2 separate regions of the Homo sapiens genome follow, and region 1 is linked to region 2. The links are contacts of gene promoters, found by promoter capture Hi-C in human tissues and cell types (Jung and others, 2019). All regions are on one chromosome and are shown on one strand. The core of a region is centred on a gene start or on the middle of the fragment in contact, and the rest is flanking DNA. Distances in the headings are between cores, read along the strand shown.

Region 1 (6,849 bases), core at 3,717-6,216, 1.4 Mb before region 2:
GCAGAAGGGCTTTGGGCTAGGGCCTGTCCCTCAGCTACTCTCCCGGGAAAGAAGGAACACTTCCCTTCTAGGTCTCCCAAGTGCTTCTGGGGGCACAGATGTACCTCCCTGGAGACTAGCACCTTTTCTTCCTGGCTCACATCCTCATTGATAAAATACAATCCTTTTTTTTTTTTTAACCAAGTTTTGCTAAATTGCAAAGTGTCTAATCCCTGGGGTGACCTCATGTCTTCCGGGGTCTCTAAATGTGGCTAGGATTCTGTGAGTTCTCATTACAAAAGAAGCTCTCAGCCGGGCACAATGGCTCACACCTGTAATCTCAACACTTTGGGAGGCCGAGGCAGGTGGATCACAAGGTCAGGAGTTCGAGACCAGCCTAGCCAAGATGATGAAACCCCATCTCTACTAAAAATAAAAAAATTAGCCGGGCGCCTGTAATCCCAGCTACTCGGGAGACTGAGGCAGGAGAATTGCTTGAACCTGAGAGGCGGAGGTTGCAGTGAGCTGAGATCGCGCCACTGCACTCTAGCCTGGGCGACAGAGCAAGACTCAAAAAAAAAAAAGAAGCCCTCAGGTATAAAACTTGATTTAGATACCAAGGAAGATTTCACAAGATTTAAAACTCCATGTAGGACCAACAGTAAAGTCTTCCAAAAACTGTGAGCCCTCACTCAATCCATTATGCTTGCAGAGTGTAGGTTTCTCCCTGTTGAAGGCCCCCAGGTACTGGAAAGGAATAGGGCTCAGAAGGGTAAGCAGTGAGCTTGGCACTGGGGCCTGACAGGGGCTGACTTCTCCTTGTTGCTCAGTGGATGAGCATCTGTGCATTGACAACCGAACAGCCGAGGCTTTGCTTGCCTGGTACAATAAGCCCAGCCACAGAGCGCGTGAGTCCCAGGATCAAGCTGAACAAAGACTCGGGAAAACAACTTCTCCACACAGATCATCTTACACATACCAAATGGGCATTTTCTTATTCTCAGAAAAACAATTACAGGGAGCTTTTACAAATATTTCATTTCCATGTGAATACTTGCATGCTAAATTTTATGCTTAAGATAGTGGTTATGTTTTCTATGATCATTCTTATGAAGGTACACATCAATTTGAGGAAAATCAAAATGATAAAAATCCAGACTTATAGAACAGGGACATTAAGGGTAGTAATTTGCTTCATCGAAGCACCACATGGCTTTAAATACTTAGTCCTGCCCTCCCTCCAGCCCATTCAATGATTTACAACCCTGCAATTTACACTCAGCTTCTTGGAAAAAATACCATTTGGGTATGCCTGTAGTTTTACATGCTAATGCCATAAAGGACATTTTCAAAGGCAAATTTAAAATATATCCTGCATACTTGGTGAGTTTTTATTTCAACTTCTGAGGCTCCACTGGGGGGAAGAACAGACTGATTATTTACTATAAATCCTTCAAATTCATCTTCTTTCCCCATCTGCCTGGCTATAGCTTTCATGCTGGGGTAGAGAACGTCAGTTCTATTAAAGAAGAAAGACAGAAATTAGCAAACATATTTTTTCTCATTTCAATTCTCTGATAATTATTTTCATTCATTTTCTCTTTCCTATCATCAGTATCCTAACCCATTCACAGATACATCAACATTTAATTCACCACAGTTATCATTCCTTAGCCACATGAAATCGTGAGGCTTTTTCCCATTGGGTGCATATAATTTCAGTCCTCATTCTTCAAAATATTGACAAGTCTTCACCTTCCCTAGTTATCAGGGACACTGACTATAATAATTTCACAAGATAAACAATCTGGCTGTACCAAAGTGAACTTTTTGTTGTTGTTATTGTTGTTGTTGTTGTTTGTTTTTGTTTTTTGAGAGGGAGTTTCACACTTGTTGCCCAGGCTGGAGTGCAATGGTGCGATCTCAGCTCACTGCAACCTCCGCCTCCTGGGTTCAAGCCATTCTTCTGCCTCAGCCTCCCGAGTAGCTGGGATTACAGGTACCCACCATCACACCTGGTCAATTTTTTGTATTTTTAGTAGAGACAGGGTTTCACCGTGTTGGCCAGGCTGGTCTCAAACTTCTGACCTCAGGTAATCCACCCGCCTCAGCCTCCCCAAGTGCTGGGATTACAGCTGTGAGCCACCACGCCTGGCCTAAAGCAAACGTTCTTAAGCTTGGTAAGGCCCAGGGTGTATGGGGGTGCTTAGCAAATGTTCGTTTGTTAACAGACACGTGGCAGAAGCAACACGCCTTCCCAGCCAGCTACGTCATTCGAGCCAGGGCCTGCAGCTGCTAGAATGCCTCCCATTCCTCAGACTTGTGCCGCATGTGCCATCTGTATATCTCTGGCTGCAATGCCACAAGCTCTGAGAGACTCAGTCCGTGGGTCTAACGGGTCATATTAGGATTCATGGACCAAATCTCGCCCTCAGACTAAGGGCAGGAATCTGCCATCCCCCAGGTTCTAGTCATGGCCATGAATTTCAGCATCAGCAACACTCACTCATAGAGCTCTGAAAACCGTTTGTGGAGAGAGACAGAGTTGATATCCTGGCCTTGCAGCTTGAGTCGGCCCCAGTGCTCCTTTAGCACTTCCAGCTGCTTCCACAGTATCAGAAATGATCTCAGCAAAGCAAAGGACATCACCGCATCGCACAGGCCCTCCAGCAGCTCAGAGGTCTTTGGGCTGCTTCGGAACTGACTTCTGAATCCTGGCACTTTGGACCAATCTGGCTGAAAGCATTATGGAAATCCTTCTTTATTGATCATGGACCAACACAGGCTAACCTTTCACATGCAGCCTGTGCAAAACAAAGTCTTTGGAGAATTAACTTTTTCCCCAGGAGGAATGGTTTACAGGCCCACAGCACATATAGAGTTGAGAGAGGTTGACCATCCTTCATGAACAGTTTATGGAAAGGATAGGAATGTCTCAACTGCAGCTTTTTGCTTGGGTCTGGAACCATTCATTTTGAAAACTCGCTTACTTGCATACTAACGTTTTATCTGCCTTTGAAAAACTGAGCCTTTTGTGTTTTCCCTCTGCATTCTGGAAAGTGCTCTTCAATATACCTGAGATTAAAGTTCCCATCACGGTGGGGCCAAGAAGTAACTTTCCATTCAGGATTTTACCCATCTTATGGGTAAAGAAATAGAAAGTTAATTTATCCTACCTCCTGTTTCTTCTCCTCTTTTAGAAGTTAGGCAGGAAACATTTCTCTTAATTAGAATTTATCATTCAATAAGAAAGATTACTTTAAAATTATGATTTCTTCATTTATTCATTGGTGCTTTCCTTAAGTAAATAATTGTGGAGGGGCTGCTATGAGCCCTGGAGGACATGGAGGAAACAAGGTATTCAGGTCCTTGTTTGTCCTGCTGTCCTGCAGCCAGCGGTCTGAGGGCCAGGGTCACCCAGAGTGAGGAACAAAATGAGGATCACGTCCAGGCCCACTGCCTGTACATAGTGTCTCAGTCACAGAAAAAGGAGCTCTTCTTGGCAGACCAGGTTGGCAAATCCCATGACGTTATGATAAAAAGAGGCTTAGAGAGCATTTAGGTGACAGTACCCGAGACACTCACGTTTCCTGGCTAGAAACAGGGAGAACAACCTGGTATAATTGGATCCTAGAGCAGTGGTATTAACATATCTAAGGAAAAGCCTGCCTGCCAGGAAGAGTATTGGTCAAATTGTCCAAGGAAGAATTGATAAGCAAGAACCAGGGGAGAGCGAGTTCCTGTAGACTGCTGGTAACTCCTCAGTCTTGTAGCCTGCCTCCCCAACAATCAGCTAGTGCATGGATTTCCAGATTTTATTTTATCCTCAGAGCTCTTTCATCAAATGAATTCTTACACACTGGCCCAAATATTCAACAGACCAAGGCCAAGCATGGTGACATGAAGGGGACAGCCTGGAGGCCATGTAATTGCCGCCCCCGCTCCCCAGCTCAAGAAGCCCCAGGGTATCTCTGAGGAACCCCAGGGCTCCTTGGACCACAATTTTAAAAGCCTTGAGCCAATTCATCACCTTTACTTTGGAGCTTTGGAGACTGAGGCCTAGTGAGATCAAAAAACTTATAGCATAACTGGGGCAGGAACTCAGGAGTCCTGACTCTCAGGGCAGTATAAATTCTACTGCTTCCTATTGTCTATGAATAGCTAAATACTCCTAAATAAAAACACACGAAATAAAATTAATTAAAATAAATAATAATTTTAAAGCAAACTTGTTTGTTAATATGTTCATATGATGAGAAGTCTTTTCTACCAACGTGCTTTAATTTAATAGACAAGAGAAGGAACAGGAGCCAAAATAAATAACAAGGTGGAGGATGGTGGGGAATGTCAGGAAAAGATGGTAATCCATCATAGACAGGGCCAAAATATGGCAAACAGAAGGACCTGAGGGCCCAGCATGTGTTTGGATCCTGGCACAATTTGGTCTATACCCAGCTTTGCAAATGATCACACTGGGTGAAGATCTAATTATGCTGTGGAATGTAGATGGCACATATAAAACCACTTCTTTTTCTACTAATTGGCCCCAAGTGGACTTGTGACTCAGTTTAGCTAAAAAGACACAAGGAAAATCTAATGGGGGGGCTTCTAGAAAATATTCCCCTCCTTGATAAAAAGCTAGATCTCCAAGGAGAAAGCTTTTTTGCTCCTGTTTTTATCTTACAAACATGAGGGAGATGTTTCCCAATACACCTAAATGGCAGAGCCTGAGTCCTTGAAGTCACTGTCAAGGGGCTACACCAACCTGAACTGCCTCCTTCTAGACGTCTTATTATGGAGGATTAATATGCTTCCCTAATTTAGGTTATAGCTAATGGAACAACCTGTTACTTGCACCAGAAGCACTCTAACTGGCACAGAGAAGCAACAGGGTAAGCGTGGATGATCAGAAGAAGCTTCCTAAAGAGAGTGGTTTGGAAGTGGAAATCTGAAGGATAAGTAAGAGTTAATCAGGTGATGAAGCAGAAAGAGGAAGGAGAGGGAAGTTTTCCACTAGAGTGACCAGTTTGGGAGAAGTACAGAAGAGAGCATGGTGCATTTGACAAATCGAAAGACATTGAGGGTAGAAATATTGGCAGGAGTCAAGTCACGAGGGGCTGATGAAAGCATTTGGACTCTTCTCAGGGCATCTGGAATCCATTGAAGAGTTATAGTAAAGGAAGTGATATAATCAGGCTTGCATTTAAAAATATTACCCTGGTGAATGGATTGGAAGGAGGTGAGAATAAGTGTATTGAATCCAATTGGAGGTCAAGATCATAGCCTAGTTAGTGATCAGGGATGATGATGGTTTGGACTCATAGAAGTGGGTACTGTGGGGGAACAGAGAAAGAAGACAAACTTGAAAGATATTAAAATAATTGATAGTAAAACTTGGTGACTGGTTGTGGGGTGTGGGACAGAAGTCAAAGATGGTGCCCAGAGTTTTTGGCTTGGCCAACTGGGCAGGTAGTGGTAAACGGACAGGGAAGGGCAAGATTTAGGGAGTAAGATGACCTTAGCTTGAGAAACGCTGTCTCTGAGATGGAATAAGTGGAGATATCCAGCAGGCAATTGAACATGTGAGTCTGATAGGATTGATATTTGGGCTAGACATACAGATTTGGATCATTGCATGTGAATGTCATCAAAGTTATAAAAGTGGATGGGTTTTCCTAGGGAGAGGGTGAGGAATGGAGCAACCTAGTAGAGAAGAGGATGAGGGAGCTCTAGGGCCAGACCGTTGGGTTGGAATCTGAGCTTCTTTCCTCATTAACCATGTGACTTTGGCCATGTTACTTAACCTTTTTAAGCCTTAGTATTCTTATCTATAAAATGAGAACAATGAAACAACCTATCTCATGGAATTATTGTGAGGACTAAATAAATGAATACATAAAAAGCAATCTGAACAGACCTCAACTTCTAGGCAATAATAGCAGTGGTATTGATAGTATTCAGGGCTGACTTAACAGCTTGGGCAGAGGAGGCACAGTGCCTCGGGCCCACAAAATGCTTTATTTTTTTTTAATCAGAAAAAAAGACCTTTTAGGCTAAATAAAATGCTTTAATATATGATATTAATATATTTTTCTTTGTACTAGCACAATGTTAAAATATAATTTTTAATGGTTTTTCATGGAGGAGGGAAGAGCCCACAAAGGTAAAAGTGTTAGGGACTGCGGAAGTCAAAATGTGGCCCTGGTAGCAGTGGTGGGATAGATTATAAAAAAATTTTAGGGTTGGCAGAGGTAGAGGACCCTACAGAAGGGTCTGAGAAGAGGGGCTCAGCAATGTTGGAGGAAAGCTAGGAGAGACTCATGCTGTAGAAGCCAAGGGCAGAGAGGCTTTGAGAAGGACTCTGTGTCAAATGCTGCCAAGGGGTTAGGTAGAAAGGTGACTGAAAGTACCCAGAGGATTTAGTGACAAAGACCATCTCTTGATGAGAGAGGTTTCAGTAGCAAGATTGGGAAGACAGACTGCAGTGCTTCGAGGAGTGGCAGGAAGGTAAGAAAATGGAGATGATGGGTTTAGGCATTGCTCAGAAAGTTTGGCTCGGACAGAAAAGCTCTTCAAGTGCGGGCACCAGCTAGTTTGTCTAGCATCCAAACATGTCTCTGCCTAGTTCCTGGATATATGCAAAATTGTTTAAAGTCATGACACTAGGAGCGCTAGTGGCCCTTGCACCTTAGAGCTTCAGAATGATAAACCCAGAGGAGGCAGTGCCTGCCCAGGAGACCATAGGCCAGTAGTTGAGTGATGAGGACAAGAGCCCAGGCCTGAGATGTCCACCTGGGGCTTCTATCAGACCCCTCTGGCCCTTCCAACTCCAGTCCTAGATGTATGACTCACAAAGAAAGCATCCAGTTG
Region 2 (6,690 bases), core at 253-2,752:
GAGGGGCAATGGACTCTGGGATAGACCCCAGCCACAGCTGCCGCTGGACCGTGGGGTCGTTCAAAGATCTGGGCAGAAGTCCAGTTTCCAGCTCAGCGGACACCAGCCTCTAGGGTCCCACAGCCAGGGGAAGGAGAGGCTCCCGAGAGCGACTGCTCCCGCCACCGTCCATCCCTGAAATGCAGTTTCCTGTTCACAACCCGCAGGGAGAATGCCAGTCACTGTCAGGAAATTTTAAGGTCCTGGGCGATGGAGGGTCAAGGGCACACTGGCTTTGTGGCATCAAAATGATATGGGTTTGAATCCTCAGACATTCTTTTACTGTGAGGGACCTTGGGCAGTCTCTCTGGGCCTCAATTTTCTCATTTGTAGAGCAGACATACTTTGCTTTATTCCATGGGGTTTACTGATGACTAAATGACACAAAACAATAAAGGTCTCAGCCTACCGCCTGAAGCTGGTGGTTATAATTAGCAGCTCTGGAATGGGTAGGGAACCATCTGTAACGGCTTGGGGAAATCTTCATCTGCAAGATGGGCACAGCGTAGATTCAAATCTGTCGCCCAGTGGAGAGCGATCCGGTCTCACTGCAACCTCCGCCTCCCGGGTTCAAGCGATTCTCCTGCCTCAGCCTCCTGAGTAGCTGGGATTACAGGCGCGTGCCACCACAGCCGGCTAGTTTTTGTATTTTTAGTAGAGACGCGGTTTCACCATGTTGGTTAGGCTGGTCTGGAACTCCTGACCTCATGATCCACCCGGTCTCCCAAAGTACTGGGATTACAGGCATGAGCCACTGCGCCCGGCCAGATAGTAAACATTGCTTTGAAAACACAACTGCAACCCACACCTCCCGCAACCCACACCTCCCCATCCCCCAATTTTTTTTTTTTTTGAGATGGAGGCGCGCGCCACCACGTCCGGCTAATTTTTGTATTTTTAGTAGAGAGTGGGTTTCACCATGTTGGTCAGGCTGGTCTCGAACTCCTGATCTCATGATCCGTCCGCCTCGGCCTCTCAAAGTGCTGGGATTACAGGCGTGAGCCACTGTGCCCGGCCTCCCACCCCCTATTCTAAATGACACTTGTTTCCAAAATATGGGGGCTGGAGGAGCAGATCCAGAACCCAAGGAAACGTGATCAACCAGGGCAATTAATCCAGAGGGCAGGACAGGCTGAGCCTCAGCTCTTCTCTGAATATCTGGGACCCCTGCGCAGCCAGGTGAACCGCCCGCGACCGCTGCTCCGGCGGGAAGCCTTCTCTGGGATCCTGTACGCCGACGCCCGGAATCCGGCGTGGTGCGCTGGGAAACTGAGCGGTGGAGGAAGGCGGAGCGGTTAGGGGCGGGACCCTAGGGGAGGGGTTGGGGGAGGGCTTTGACGTTAGGGCGGGGCTAAGGGCGAGACCTCGCCGAGTTCCACCGTTGCGCTCGCCACGTCTCCCTTAGCGAGCTCGCTGGGGACACGCAGGGGGAGGGAAAACTGAGCGGGGCGGGAACTATCTCCTCTCGCGAGAGCTGGCGACGGCGGCGGCAGCGGCAGAGGTGGCGGCGGCGTGTCCGTGAGAGTGGCGTGGGGGCGGGGAGGAGAGGCGGCGGCGGCAGTGTCCAAGCTACGCCACTCGGGCCGGGGCGTTGGGAGCGGGAGTGCAGAGCGTGGTCGTGGCGGCGGCGGTGAGAAGAGCGAGGCGGAGGAGGGGGTGCCATGGCCGGGCAGCAGTTCCAGTACGATGACAGTGGGAACACCTTCTTCTACTTCCTCACCTCCTTCGTGGGGCTCATCGTGATCCCGGCGACATACTACCTCTGGCCCCGAGATCAGAATGCCGGTGAGTCCCGCCGGCCTTTGCCCGCGAACCCGCGCAGGCCCCGCCAGCGCCCCCAGGCCCTGCGGCGCCCGCTTGCCCGGCCCCAGCCCGCGGCGTCCGGGATGACAGGGACGGTGCGGCCCGGCCTGTGTCCAGCGTCCGCCACTGGCGGGGCCCGGGTCAGCAGCGTTTCCCTCGGCGCTTCTCCACCTCCCTTCATTGTCCTCAGGAGTTTCGCTCGCTCCATCTTCTCCATTGTTGTGGACGCTCCTTGCAGCCTCCTCCTGCCTCTTTGTCTTCTCTGCCTTTGCTTTTATTGGGGATTTTTCTTTATGGAGGAAGCGGGATGGGGACTTGGGAGGTGAGCAAAGAGTTGGCCAAGAAGAGACTGAACGTGCGGGCACAACTCTCAGTCCGTCCAGTTCGCGGCCCTCATCCCCCGACTCCGGTTTCCCTGTTGCAGCTGCTCTTAACAGATGTTTTAGGGCATCTCTGAGCCGGGTGGCATGCTTAGGACTCCAATTGAGCTTTCCACCGCCTACCCCCGTCACTTCCTCCCGTTGCTTTTTCATTTGTTCACTCACTGTGGGGGTTGGAAGCAATGCCGTTATTCCTCTTAGCAAAAATAGGCTTTTTTCTATTTCCTTTTCTTCGGAGTTTCCTGTTTGTGACGGAAAAAGTGCAAGTATGAAGGATTAAGTCTCGTTTAATTAATCTTGTAGGGAATTTTGAGGTAGTGGGTCGATTTACTTTTGGTTCTAAGTCTTTTCACATTAAACAACATCGAATTAAAGCACAGAATAACAGATTCTTTTCATATTTCACTTGATGTTTGGGTAATGTTTGCATCCATTTGTTGCACTCTACTAGGACATATGGCAGATGGTATTCTTAAAGCTGATGTAACTGCGAGGGCCTAATGGGTTATTTATGGTAGTGTTAACAGTAAGGAGTGGGTTTTGAGTATTAACAACTTAGGGAAAGCTTTCTATTGCACAAGAGCTGTGCTAACTTGCTTAAATATCTTCTCTTCAATTGGGTGTGCTGGAGGTCTAGGTTGTCCAGGTTATATACTCTACTTGGAGAAGTTGTTAACAGTGAAGCCTTGAATCAGCTCAGAACTTGTTATACTTTCAGATGGATTCAGTGTCCTGTAACATTCTTTTTCCCCCCCGCCCCATGTGATCTGCAGGAAACTAACATTCTTGACTTGGAATAGAACTAAAATAAATTTAGGATAAATAGTAACAAAGGATTGCATCATTTTGTACGTTTGACAATAAGTTTAAAAATCCATTAGATGCAAAAATCTGTCCAAAGTTACTAGTCTTAATACTTTTTTTACTCAATGGGTAGTTTATGAAATTTGGATCTTGGACTGTTGTGCCTTATTTCCTAAGTGCATTTAAATTGTGTAGGTTCTTCCTCGATGTTGAAAAAGGAAAAAAAATTGGGTAGGTTCTTTGGGCAGTGATTGTGTATAAGTGAAGTCTTAATGCTGTAATGGCTTTTCTTATCTGCAAACCTAGGCCATTCTTGTGGTTGTTGTATTTCAAGTTAAAAGGGTACACTTTTCAGTAGTTTATTTTCACCTAACAGCCATTATGTGTGCAATTGGTAGTGTAGAAAACAAAAAGGTATTGGGAGAGTAGTCGGTGGGTTTGGCCAGAATGTGTTTTGATCAGGCAGAACAAAGGTATAAAAAAAAGTGTTTTGAGAAACTGCCCTGATTTCAGAAATTAGCCATCATTTTTTAATCTACATTGGATTTTTAAAGTTGTTCTTTTTTTCTTTTTAAAGCGGGGAGAGTCTCATTTACCCAGGCTGGTCTTGAACTTGCTTCAAGTCATCCTCCCGCTTCAGCCCCCCGAGTAGCTGGCCTTACAGACTTGAGCCACTGTGTCAGGATGGATTTTTGAAATTTGAAAGTCATATTTTCATGGTGAGTTTCGTATTATAAAATTCACCTGATTTCATAGAAGAATCATACTATTTATTTATTTATTTATTTATTTATTTATTTAGAGACAGAGTCTCACTCTGTTGCCCAGGATGGAGTGCAGTGGCTTGATCTTGACTCATTGCAGCCTCCACCTGCTGGGTTCAAGCAGTTCTGCCACAGCTTCCCCAGTAGCTGGGATTACAGGCGTGCACCACCAGGCTTGGCTTATTTTCGTGTTTTTAGTAAAGATGGGGTTTCACCATGTTGACCAGGCTGGTCTCCAACTCCTGACACCAAGTGATCTGCCCTCCTCGGGCTCCCAAAGTGCTGGGACTACAGGCATGAGCCACCACGCCCTGCCAACAAGTCATACTTGACCCCCTTCAGCATGTAAGTGTCTTTGAAAAAGTGGTGGTAGTTTAGGTGGAGGGAATTAATACTATTTGTAAATCATGGACTTCAACTTTTACTTTATTTAATCTTCTTAAAAATGCAGTGAGGTTGGCCGGGCATGGTGGCTCACGCCTGCCGTGGCTCACTTTGGGAGGCCCAGGCGGGCGGATCACCTAAAGTCAGGAGTTCAAGACCAGCCTGGCCAACATGGTGAAACCCCGTCTCTACAAAAATACAAAAAGTTAGCTGGGAGTGGTGGCGGACGCCTGTAATTCCAGCTACCCGGGAGGCTGAGGCAGGGAGAATTGCTTGAACCCGGGAGCTGGAGGTTGCAATGAGCCGAGATCGTGCCACCACACTCCAGCAATGCAGTGAGGTAGGTTCTATTATTATCTCCATTTACAGGTAAAGAAACTGAGGGTAGAGCATGTAAGTAATTTTCCTGTATGGTTGAACTGGGATTAGAACATTGGTCGCTTAGCTTCAGAGCCCTGTGTGGTTTCCATACTGCTAGATAGAAAGTTAGGTGAACTATTATGGGTGTCAGTTTGCCCGTTTTACATCCGGCTCTCTGCTTCAGGCTTGCCTTAGTCCATATGCATATTTTGATGTATTTGTTTGCTCTTGCTCAAAATTGTGTTATGAAAATTAAGGTGAATACTTAAATGCTATTCTAATCATTATGAAAATTGTTGGGCACCACTTGGACTTTTTTCTTGGATTTACCCTAATAACTTGAGTTGTTTCTGTGGAATTACAGTTGTAGTAAAAGGATGTTTTCATCATAGTGACTTTTTTTCTGCAGCCCAGTTGCAGTATCTTGAATATGAAAGAGAAATCTTGAATTACTGCCTCATTCAAAGCTCTGAATAAGGAACTTTTTTCAGAAGTTTGCTGCAAAATAATTTGCCGACTTGTACTGACAGGAGGCTACTGAATAATCTTTATCTCACTTAATAAATAGTTATGTTCTGTCTTGGAATATTAATTTGTTTGGTTATTGGTGCACTTTAGACCCCATAGGGTCTGTTTGAGTGTAAACGCTGTGTTACTTTTCTAAAATCTGAAAAATTCTTTTTTTTTTTTTTTGATTTTTTTTTTTTTTTTAATTGATCATTCTTGGGTGTTTCTCACAGAGGGGGATTTGGCAGGGTCATAGGACAATAGTGGAGGGAGGGTCAGCAGATAAACAAGTGAACAGAGGTCTCTGGTTTTCCTAGGCAGAGGACCCTGCGGCCTTCCGCAGTGTTTGTGTCCCTGGGTACTTGAGATTAGGGAGTGGTGATGACTCTTAACGAGCATGCTGCCTTCAAGCATCTGTTTAACAAAGCACATCTTGCACCGCCCTTAATCCATTTAACCCTGAGTGGACACAGCACATGTTTCAGAGAGCACAGGGTTGGGGGTAGGGTCACCGATCAACAGGATCCCAAGGCAGAAGAATTTTTCCTAGTACAGAACAAAATGAAAAGTCTCCCGTGTCTACCTCTTTCTACACAGACATGGCAACCATCCGATTTCCCAATCCTTTCCCTGCCTTTCCCCTCTTTCTATTCCACAAAACCGCCATTGTCATCATGGCCCGTTCTCAATGAGCTGTTGGGTACACCTCCCAGACGGGGTGGTGGCCGGGCAGAGGGGCTCCTCACGTCCCAGTAGGGGCGGCTGAGGAGAGGCGCCCCTCACCTCCCGGACCGGGCGGCTGGCCGGGCGGGGGGCTGACCCCCCCACCTCCCTCCCGGACGGGGCGGCTGGCCGGGCGGGGGGCTCACACCCCCACCTCCCTCCCGGACGGGGCGGCTGGCCGGGCGGGGGGCTGAACCCCCCACCTCCCTCCCGGACAGGGCGGCTGGCCGGGCAGGGGGCTGACCCCCCACCTCCCTCCCGGACGGGGCGGCTGGCCGGGCAGAGGGGCTCCTCACTTGCCAGTAGGGGCGGCCGGGCAGAGGCGCCCCTCACCTCCCGGACGGGGCGGCTGGCCGGGCGGGGGGCTGACCCCCCCACCTCCCTCCCGGACGGGGCGGCTGGCCGGGCGGGGGGCTGACCCCCCACCTCCCTCCCGGACGGGGCGGCTGGCCGGGCAGAGGGGCTCCTCACTTCCCAGTAGGGGCGGCCGGGCAGAGGTGCCCCTCACCTCCCGGACGGGGCGGCTGGCCGGGCGGGGGGCTGACCCCCCCACCTCCTTCCCGGACGGGGCAAATCTGAAAAATTCTGAAGCACATTTGTTCTTAAGGATTTTAAGTAAAAGATGAGGACCCCCGTAGTACAGTTTTGGGGAAACACAACAGCATATATAAGTATTTTTATTTTTTGAGATGGAGCCTTGCTCTGTCACCCAGGCTGAAGTGCAGTGGCGTGATCTCGGCTCACTGCAACCTCTGCTTCCCGTGTTCAAACGATTCTCGTGCCTCAGCCTCCTGAGTAGCTAGGAAAACTGGCGCGAGCCACCATGCCTGGCTTATTTTTGTATTTTTAGTAGAGATGGGGTTTCACCATGTTGGCCAGGCTGGTCTCGAACTTCTGACCTCAATTGATCCACCTGCCTCGGCGTC

What was found. The method cuts DNA at HindIII sites, captures the fragments that hold promoters and counts their contacts. A contact is called where the count stands out against the background at its distance.
Region 1: a contact is called between a fragment that was not itself captured here and the fragment with the promoter of SEC63 in region 2, in 1 of the 25 tissues and cell types used here (hippocampus).

The regions. Positions count from the first base shown.
Region 1 is chr6:109,309,929-109,316,777 of GRCh38, reverse strand. It overlaps the pseudogene CCDC162P. Among named protein-coding and RNA genes, the nearest start is that of CD164, 69 kb to the left of the region's middle. The HindIII fragment of the contact is 3,139 bases long and covers 3,397-6,535 here.
Region 2 is chr6:107,953,020-107,959,709 of GRCh38, reverse strand. It overlaps SEC63 (SEC63 protein translocation regulator), which reads left to right and starts at 1,502. Exons shown (of 21, transcript NM_007214.5): 1 at 1,502-1,824. The coding sequence starts at 1,701. RefSeq lists enhancers at 259-859, 1,462-2,063 and silencers at 1,300-1,839, 6,371-6,665. The HindIII fragment of the contact is 11,998 bases long and covers 1-6,527 here.